2 separate regions of the Homo sapiens genome follow, and region 1 is linked to region 2. The links are contacts of gene promoters, found by promoter capture Hi-C in human tissues and cell types (Jung and others, 2019). All regions are on one chromosome and are shown on one strand. Each heading gives the region's core, a stretch centred on a gene start or on the middle of the fragment in contact. The rest is flanking DNA. Distances are from core to core; before and after follow the strand shown. Region 1 has its middle 31 kb from the start of BMNCR. Region 2 holds the start of OPTC (opticin).

What was found. The method cuts DNA at HindIII sites, captures the fragments that hold promoters and counts their contacts. A contact is called where the count stands out against the background at its distance.
Region 1: a fragment that was not itself captured here is called in contact with the fragment with the promoter of OPTC in region 2 in 1 of the 25 tissues and cell types used here (IMR-90 fibroblasts).

Annotation. Positions count from the first base shown.
Region 1 is chr1:203,435,554-203,441,037 of GRCh38, reverse strand. No RefSeq gene overlaps it. Among named protein-coding and RNA genes, the nearest start is that of BMNCR, 31 kb to the right of the region's middle. RefSeq lists an enhancer at 1-99. The HindIII fragment of the contact is 7,865 bases long and covers 1-5,484 here.
Region 2 is chr1:203,491,723-203,496,441 of GRCh38, reverse strand. OPTC (opticin) reads right to left here and starts at 2,289. Exons shown (of 8, transcript NM_014359.4): 1 at 2,225-2,289; 2 at 206-477. The coding sequence starts at 436. RefSeq lists a silencer at 2,568-2,796 and an enhancer at 4,184-4,719. The HindIII fragment of the contact is 22,199 bases long and covers 1-4,719 here.

The sequences.
Region 1 (5,484 bases), core at 1,089-3,588, 55 kb after region 2:
GCACTTCAAGGAAGGCCCAGGAGGAGCTGCCAGCACAGCTCTGTCCAGGGTGAGGAGTGAGTGGCTTGCAGAGGAGCCACTCCACGATGCCCTGGCAAGCCCCTGTCACATTCCAGAGCACAGAGGACCACGAACTCCCAGCTTGGCTCAAGGCATGCGGGGCTGGCACACAGCCCAGGCATTTCCTCCCCTCCCATCCCTCTTTCTCATTCTCTTTCTGCATCCTGGTGCTAAAGGTTCTGCTGGAGCTTCCGTCTCTCTTCTCTGCAGAGGGAGAATAGGGAAAGGAGTGGGTGTCAGCTGGGAGAAATTTCCACTCAGTTTAATGTTGCTGGAAATCCAGACATCTCTAAAATATGGGCTGAGGACCCCCACGTGCCCAGCACTGTGCCAGCCAGCCCCAGAATGCAGAGATGAAGAAGAGCTGTCTATTGAGGACAGAGGAGACTGCTTATGGATGTGTCCTTGACAGCCACCTTGGCTGGGCACGTGGAAGAGATCACAGGAGGCAATGTCAGTGAGGGTTGTGCACCACTGCACCCTGCAAGCTGCCTGAGGGTGGGCCCACCTAGCACAGTGCCTGGCCTGCTGGAGGAGCTCAGTACACATTTGTTGAGTGAATTAGTGGAATGAGGTAGTTTAGGAAGGCTTTCTGGAGGAAAGAAAATCTGAACAGGGCCCAGAGAGGATGGGTGGAATTTGACCAGGCCAAGTAGAAAGGAATGTATCCTGTGCGGCAGAGAGCCCTAAAAGGAGAGGTAAGGAAGGGGACAGTCCACAGTAGGCTGTTCTAGACAGGAGCATGGGGAACAGCTCCTTTGTTACTCTCAGGATAAAGCCAGGCCCCCCGGTTCACTCGCAAGATCCTTCTCATCTGGCTCTGCCCACCCTTCATTACTGCCTCTTCCCACAGCACCCTGGTCCTCTATTCCAGCTGACTCAAGCATTTATTTGCAATCCATGGGACAAGACCCTTGCTCTCTCTCCTCCAGGCCTGTGAACAACTCTCCTCCCCTCTGCCAGGAAGGCCTCCACCTGTACCTCTCCCTGTCTCTCCAGCTCCTCCTGACACCATTGATCTCTCCTGACACCAGTGGTCTCTCCTGCGAGGACCTCACCTTCTGAAGTCAGGTTGGTCACTGTTCCTAAGTGCAACATGCCTCTCTCTGCTTGCCGCATGCTCATGCCATCCCCATGAATTGTTATTCCTGGTCTGTCTCCCCCTAGACAGGTCCTAGACTGAACCATGGTCATGGTCCTAGACTGGTCATGTTCCAGTGCACCAGATTCCCCACTCCGAGATGATCGATTACAGTCAGAGACAATTAACTACGGCTTCAGCAATGTGTGAGAGGCAGCCAGCATCAAGGGAGGCAAAGCACAGCCGTCAAAACAGAGATCACACAGTCCCAAACAGCCTCGACCCTGGCTCACATAAACTTTCCCGTCTCTAAGTGGGAGAGGCAGGCTGATGCAGCCATGGCTTTCAAAGCTTTTCCATAAGATGTTAGTGATTTCTGATCACACTTGGCAAACATCCTTTGTGGGTGTGGATTTCTGATTAGCCTGTAAATTCCTTGGAGCTGAAGAATCAAGTCCAATTCTCCTTTGTATTATCAGTTAAACATCACACCGGGCACATGGGAGGCTTAATAAAGAATTATTTCTTTATTTGGTTAACTACTTATTCATTGATCAAACTCACTTAAGGCAATGTCATTATAATTTCCAGTCTTGACTTCAATCTTGAACAGGCTGCAGGAACGGTTCTCACACCTAGAGCTTATGCCCAGAAGATTACATAATACCAGCAGTAGGAAATGAGAAGCTACAGTAGTAAATGGGAAGTCAGTTTCCAGCTAAATTCCATATGCTCAGAGGTGGAAAAGGCTTTAGAGAGCATCTAGCCCCCACCCTCACTTTATAAGATGGGAAACTGAGACTGTGATATGGAAATTATTTGTCCAAGGTCACAGGACATCATTTACTTGTTGGATCCAGTTGTTTGACCTTGGTCTTTGAGGTTCAGTCTTCTCTCCATTATACCATTTCAGCTTCCTCTACCACCAGTAAGAATCCTCCAACTGCCCATTCCCAAGAAGGAGCCTGGTAGAAAGACCATGGATATTTGTGTCAAACCTGAGTTCAAATCCTGATTCTGCTACTTAATTGCCATTCAACTAAGAGAGCCTTGTATATTACTCAAATTACCCACTTGTGAAACAGAGAAATAGCACCTACTTTGGAGGGCTGGAGTGTGAATTACAGATGGGATAATGTCTGCAGCGTGCCCAGCCCTGTGCTTGATATGGTGGCTCTCAATAAATGTCAGTTCTGCCCCTTCCTCTGGTTCTTAGAGTTGTTTTGCCTTCTCTGTCTTTTCCCTCTTAGAAAATCTTAAGGTCTACTTAGAAGGGCCTCTCAGAGGTCTTTTGGCCCACTTCCCTGCATGTATTTAGGGCTGACCCCTCTCTTCCCTCTAAAGCATTTCATCCTATCCTGGAACTTCTAAAGAAGGCATTTCACTGTATAACTCAGGCTAGTGGATAAAAGTTAGGTAGGGCCTCTCTTCTTCCTCCCATCTAGCCCAATACTTCCTACTGCAATTTAGGAATGAAGTTATTTTCTCTGTTTTGCTTTCCAGGAGGATGCAAAAATATTTTTTTCCTTCTTCCCTTCTTTTTCCACCATATCTGTTTATTTTTTCTTCAATATCCTGATTTCTCCTCCTTTTCTCCTTCCCCTGGGCTTTTAGAACTACCCCCACCCCTCTCTCTGTGCCCCTGTCCCTGTCTTTTCTTTTCAGATGGGCAGCGGACTGATGATATCCCGCATATTAGGGTGGCCCCTCCCACATCCCATTCCCGCCCAGACATCTCAGCCCTGCTCAATGCCCGCCTCTGGCGGAGACCTTATCTCTGCCCACCACACCGCAGCTCCAGCTGCCGTCCTGGGCAGACTGAAACCAAACAGCTAGGGTGAGTCTGTATTGGATCCTGATGGCTGGCTGACCCAGCTGCCTGCTCCCGGGAGAAGTAGGATGAGGGGACAGGTGGAAGTTGAGGCCGCCTTCCTAGCTCCTCTGACAAATGCCAAAGGGACCTGTAGAGCCTCCTGCCATTCCACAGGGTGGGTGCTACTAGCTCTCCTTCTCCCAGACCCCTCTCCTTGACTGTGCTGGCCTCATTGCCAGAAAAATTCCAGGGCAGGTGGAGGCAATCTGCCTGGAAAACAAACCCGGTGCCAAGCCACTGCAGGATGGGCCAAAGGATTTCGGTGGAATCCCAAAACTCGCAGCGCGGACCGAATCTTGTAAATCAGGAGGGGCTTGTTGCTCTAAGCGGCCTGACCTTTCTTTTCTTCTTCTTCTTCTTCTTCTTTTTTTTTTTTTTTTAATTATACTTCAAGTTCTAGGGTACATGTGCACAACATGCAGGTTAGTTACATATGTATATATGTGCCATGTTGGTGTGCTGCATCCATTAACTCATCATTTACATTAGGTATATCTCCTAATGCTATCCCTCCCCGCTCCCCTCACCCCACGACAGGCCCCGGTGTGTGATGTTCCCCACCCTGTGTCCATGTGTTCTCATTGTTCAATTCCCACCTATGAATGAGAACCCGAGGTATTTGGTTTTCTGTCCTTGCAATAGCTTGCTCAGAATGATGGTTTCCAGCTTCATCCATGTCCCTTCAAAGGATATGAACTAATCCTTTTTATGGCTGCATAGTATTCCATGGTGGATATGTGTCACATTTTCTTAATCCAGTCTATCATTGATGGACATTTGGGTTGGTTCTAAGTCTTTGCTATTGTGAATAGTGCCTCAATAAATATATGTGTGCATGTGTCTTTATAGCAGCATGATTTATAGTCCTTTGGGTATATACCCAGTAATGGCATCGCTGGGTCAAATGGTATTTCTAGTTCTAGATCCCTGAGGAATCGCCTCACTGTCTTCCACAATGGTTGAACTAGTTTGCAGTCCCACCAATAGTGTAAAAGTATTCCTATTTCTCCACATCCTCTCCAGCACCTGTTGTTTCCTGACTTTTTAATGATCGCCATTCTAACTGGTGTGAGATGGTATCTCATTGTGGTTTTGATTTGCATTTCTCTGATGGCTAGTGATGATGAGCATTTTTTCATGTGTCTGTTGGCTGCATAAATGTCTTCTTCTGAGAAGTGTCTGTTCATATCCTTTGCCCACTTTTTGAATGGGTTGTTTGATTTTTTCTTGTAAATTTGTTGAAGTTCTTCGTAGATTCTGGATATTAGCCCTTTGTCAGATGGGTAGATTGCAAAAATTTTCTCCCATTCAGTAGGTTGCCTATTCACTCTGATGGTAGTTTATTTTGCTGTGCAGAAGCTCTTAATTAGATCCCATGTGTAAATTTTGGCTTTTTTTTGCCACTGCTTTTGGTGTTTTAGACATGAAGTCCTTGCCCATGCCTATGTCCTGAATGGTACTGCCTAGGTTTTCTTCTAGGGTTTTTACGGTTTTAGGTCTAACATGTAAGTCTTTAATCCATCTTGATTAATTTTTGTATAAGGTGTAAGGAAGGGATCCAGTTTCAGCTTTCTACATATGGGTAGCCAGTTTTCCCAGCACCATTTATTAAATGGGGAATCCTTTCCCCATTTTTTGTTTTTGTCAGGTTTGTCAAAGGTCAAATGGCTGTAGATGTGTGGTATTATTTCTGAGGGCTCTATTCTGTTCCATTGGTCTATATCTCTGTTTTGGTACCAGTACCATGCTGTTTTGGTTACTGTAGCCTTGTAGTATAGTTTGAAGCCAGGTAGCATGATGCCTCCAGCTTTGTTCTTTTGGCTTAGGATTGTCTTGGCAATGCAGGCTCTTTTTTGGTTCCATATGAACTTTACAGTAGTTTTTTCCAACTCTGTGAAGAAAGTCATTGGTAGCTTGATATGGATGACACTGAATCTGTAAATTAGCTTGGGCAGTATGGCCATTTTCACGATATTGATTCTTCCTATTCATGAGCATGGAATGTTCTTCCATTTGTTTGTGTCCTCTTTTATTTCGTTGAGCAGTGGTTTGTAAGCAACCTGACCTTTCTTGTGCTGGCGGCTCCCTGCTTGCTTTTTGCCTCATTCCCACTCCCTGTCTGGAGTTGGGGGCGGGGTGGGGGATAAAGGGGGTGGGAGTGGTCAGGAACAGAGGGAAAGCAGCCGGAGGGGATTGATGGGCTGATTGAGCTGAGCATGAACCATCCCTCTGCCTGGCTGTGCCCTTCGACCTGCCTCAGACTAGAAGGCCTCATTGGTATTCCAGGCCAGGCCAGCCTGGGGAAGAACAACGAGATATATTCGGGTGCTTTTCAAAGCACCTTCATTTATTAATCCATTTTATCCCTCTGGCAGCCCTGGACAGACATAAGGTGAGAGACAGGCCTGAGGGCCGCGGAGGGCCCTGAGTCCGTGCTTGCATTCCTCCCAGCACATTGGCTCCCCAGGCC
Region 2 (4,719 bases), core at 1,040-3,539:
TTTTGAAGAAGGAGAAGTCCCAGGTTTGTGTCCTGTTTCTTAGTATCATCTAAGTGACAAGTCCCTATGGAGGGATAAGAATTTCCACCTCACAGAGAAAGAGGTGGAGGCTGGAGACACCCGCACTTTGGGGCAGATGGGAGGGCCCTGGCCTCTGACTCCCAGTGTCATGCAGGGAATGTAGTTGGTCTGCTGTGTCCCTCACCTCGGGGAGTTGGTCCCCATAATCTGTGAGCTCCTCATAGTTGCTCAGGTCAATGACTTCACCATAGTTGTCTGGGTTCAGGACATCATTCCGCAGAGGCAGAACTTCAAAGGAATCGCCTTCCCTGGGCATCTGCTCCTCTCTCCTCTTCCTCTCCTTCCTTGGGAGAGAAGCTGTCCCTGTCTCCTGCAGCACCAAGGCCAGCAGACTCAGGAAAGCCAGGAGCCTCATGGGGAGTCAGATGGGACTGAGAATCCCTTCAGCGGCTGGTCCTGGCAAGTGGGCACGAGGAAGGGCAGCGATCTGAGGGACAGGCTCTCCAGAGTGTTGTGGGAATGGCTCGCAGATTTACTCCACTTCCCACCCCCACACTTGCAGACTCAGTGCTCTCATCACATGCACAAATTCCCTACCAGCTGGGACTATGTCTTGGGGGGTATCTCCTAGCAGCCCCCTCCCTCCACCGCCCCACTTGAGTGTTTTTACACGCTCACCCAAACACTGATATTCACTCACAGAGGCATGTGCAGACACATCTCAACACAGACACATTCACAAGAGTCCCCTTGTTTACAAACGAGGCACACACTGGTGCATGCACACAGATGTCCTCTCTTAAACAACCCCATGCTCAGAACATGACTGCTAGTCACTAAGCTCGATTTAGAGAATGTCAACATCAAATAATCTTATGGGGTCTTTTTGTTTGTTTGTTTTTTTGAGACGAAGTTTCATTCTTGTTTCCCGGGCTGGAGTGCAGTGGTGCGATCTTGGCTCACTGCAACCTCCGCCTTCTGGGTTCAAGCGAATCTCCTGCCTCAGCCTCCTGAGTAGCTGGGATTACAGGCACCCACCATGCCTGGCTAATTTTTGTATTTTTAGTAGAGAAGGGGTTTCACCATATTGGCCAGGCTGGTGTCGAACTCCTGACCTTAGGTGATCCACCCACCCTGGCTTCCCAAAGTGCTGGAATTACAGGTGTGAGCCACCGCGCCCAGTTGACTCTTGTGGTTTTTTATAAAGATCATCCATTCATGCATTTGCTCAACAAACATTTATGGGTGTCTATTGAGTTCCAGGCACAGGACTTGTCTCTGTGGGTACAGAATGAATGAGGCACAGCCCTTCCTAGGAGCACCTAGTCTCTTTAGGAGACATGGACTTACAATGAAACATACAATGTAAAAAAGAATGTTAGTTTATGAAATATACTTCTAAATGCAGCTTTTTAGAAACAGATTATTACAGATAAAAGAGTTCTTTGTGTGTGATTGCATGAGTGTGTACGCATCTGGAAATTTCCTTAGATACCTGTGTATATTTGTGTGTGTGTGCACACAGATGCCTGCGTATGTATGTGATATGCATGTGAGTACAAATGTTCATGTAGTTCGTATATGTATAGACGGGTCAGGAAATGCATGTGGTGTGGTTTTGTATCCAGGCATAAGTGTATACAACAGTCATACCCAGTGTAGGCTTAACACAGCCCTCCCCAAAGCTAGCTGCACAAGTTTCTAGTAGACTCTCCCTCTTTCTTTCTTTTAAAATTTTTTTTATCTTTTAATTTTTATTTTATTTTCTATTTTTAAGACGGTGTCACTCTGTTGCCCAGCCTGGAGTGTTATGGCATGATCTCAGCTCACTGAAGCCTTAACCTCCTGGGCTCAGGCAGTCCTCCTGCCTCAGCCTCCCAAGTAGCTGGGACTACAGGCGTGTGTTACCATGCCCAGTTAACCTCCCCACCCTTTCTTAATTTTAGCTGGGCAAGGGGGCAAGCCTCTAGCAGTAGCAAGAGGTGTTTCTTCACCTTACCTCCCATACCTCACCCCAAACGAATTACATAATCTCAAAAAAAATTTTTCTAAGAGAGTTTAGTGCCCACCCAAAAGTCTTGTCCAACTTCTTTGGCCAGAGGCCTAAACTCTCTTCATTTTCCCTTCCCAATCCCCTGCCCCAGCCAAACACTTTGCCCTCATTTGCGCACCGATGGCCAGAGGCCTCAACCTTGAGCCTTACCCCTTCAATGCTTCTGGATCCTGGATGGAGAGCCCTGCAGCTTCCAGAAAGGTGGGGACTCTGGTGGAGGCTGTCTGAACTGGGGCTTGGGTTAGACAGTGGTGCCCGGGGGAGGGCAAGGAGTTGGCCAGGCCTGCGACCAATCAGACTTCTCATTCCTTCTGATGTCCAGCTGTTTCCCCTCCTCTTTCCTCAGGGGGTCCCCTGCCCCATTCCTGTATTTGACAAAAGAGAATTCTCCCCCCACCTTCCGCTTCACCCCCCACCTCCAGCTCCTGCTCTCTCTCCTCTTACTCTGTCAGCTCCTTCTTTCTTTTCCTTGTCCACTCTCCTGATAAGGCCACATCTTTGAGGAACAGGGAGTGCCATCCCCTGCAAGGAAGGGGCCCCATCCCTCAGATTCTGAGTCCTCAGAGAAGGCTGGAGTCGGGGGATATGGAGAGATAGAGCTTGTCTTTGCAGCTTCTTTCTCCAGCCAGAGAGTGACAAGGCTTCAGCTTCATAGCCAGAATCCAAAGATAAAAATAGGTGGAAATGAGGCACTTCACCCTCACCTAGAGCGCCAGCACAGAGACCATAATTGAATAAAATCACCAGAGACAGGAGCTGCAGGCCTAGGTAGTTCAAAGAGAAGGTGTATGGGGGATGAGATCGGATTTGAAAGCCAACTTCAAGTTCACAGATGATGATCATGAGGATACGGGAAATTCTCTAAATCTGCTAGGAGGAAACCAAATGGAAATTGGGAGGTGGGCCCTAGAAAGGATCATAAACACCAGTAGACATTGTGTAGGGTCTCGGGGGCCTGGGAAGTATCCTCTCCCGCACCCTCAGAGATGTACAGTCGTCCCTCAGTAACCATGGGGGATTGGTTCTGCACGTCCAGTGGATACCAAATCCACATATGCTGAGGTCTTTTATATAAAATGGTGAATTTGCACATAACCTACGCACATCCTCCTGTGTACTTCAAATCATCTCTAGATTACCTATAACACCAAACACAATGCTTACACCTCACTCCATTCACATGGATTCCACATAGTACTGGCACACAGCAAATTCAAGTTTTCCTTTTTGGAACGTTGTGAATTTTTTTTTTTTCTGAATATTTTCAATCTGTGGTTGGTTGAATCCACGGATGTGGAACCCACAGATACAGAGGGCCAACGGCATTCATCTGGAAACACTCCCCTTTCCTTGGTGCCTCGAGCAGGCTGCCGAGCAAGTCCTTGCTGAAGGCAGAGGTGGGGTGGCTAAGGAGTCTTCCCCAGCTTCTGCCAGCCTGTGCCCTGGCGCCCACCCAGGTTTCTCAGTGACTCTCCTTGTTCCCTACTCCTTTCCACCAACCAGATACTGAATTCCAGCTGTGAGGCCCCCTAAAGATCTAGTCCAAGTCCTTGTGGTATAGATGAGGAGAGTGAGGCCCAAAGAGGTGACGTGACTTGCCCTAGGTCACACAGAGCCAGGGCCAATGCCTAGATTTTTTGACTCCCTGGTCAGAGAGTTTTCTTTAGTTCATATGACCCTCCCCATTTCCACCTTCTTCCCCAGGAGTCCTGAATCCGTGTGTTTCCAGGCCCTCAGAGCAGATGGCTTGGCAGAACTCATCTCTGCCCTGGCACACCAGGTGAAGAGGCAGATCTAATAGCCTGGCCCTCGAGGGCAGCATTTGGCTTGCTGTGTTCCTGGGCTCCAGCTGGTGCAAGAGGGGGCTTCCCTCAGCCCAAGAGCCTGGTCACCAGAGAAGAGCATGTTCTTGTACCCCTGGCAGCCCCCCACCTGGGAAAAGACACCATCAGAGGCTCTGCTGGGTGGAGGGAAAGATAGCCCTGGATCCTGGAGGGCATCCAGTAGGCAGATGGCACATTTGGCGGGCTGTATGCCTCCATCTTCTCTCCACAGCCTGGGCTTTGCAGCCAGAGGCCCTCCACCCCCACAGCCAGCCTAGGCAATCTCCCCGCTCCCACCCCACACATTTATTCCTGGGAGAAATGCAAATGCGAGTGTTCATTCACTCTCCCTGCCGCCTGCTCCCACTCTCCCTCCCTGCTTTCCCAGAGACATACGCTCCTGCCATCCCTGCTTGGTTGCCACACCCCCACCATCGTTCCTCCCCAATGCATACACACCTGCTCCCCCCACTCCCTGCAGGAGCCACATCCAGACTCAGGCTCGCATCCTAGACCCTCTCCCAACTTCTCCTCTTGCTTTCCCAAGCTCACAGGTCACACACTCTTGTTCTCATGAATATTAGGGGCTGTCCATGGATGTGTACATGTGACCTGGTGGGGGAAACGGCTAACCCCGCAGACTGCTGTTCCAGGCAGCCCAGCTCCCCAAGAGCCTGGCAAAGGAAGCAGGAGGCGGGGGAGGCGTCCTAATCCTAATCTCTCATTAGGAGAGGCAAAAGGCGTGTTGATGAATCGGAGGCGGCAGGTGGTATGGACAGAAGTTTGACCAGCCAACCCTGTTGTTGCCCTTTTCATGGATAG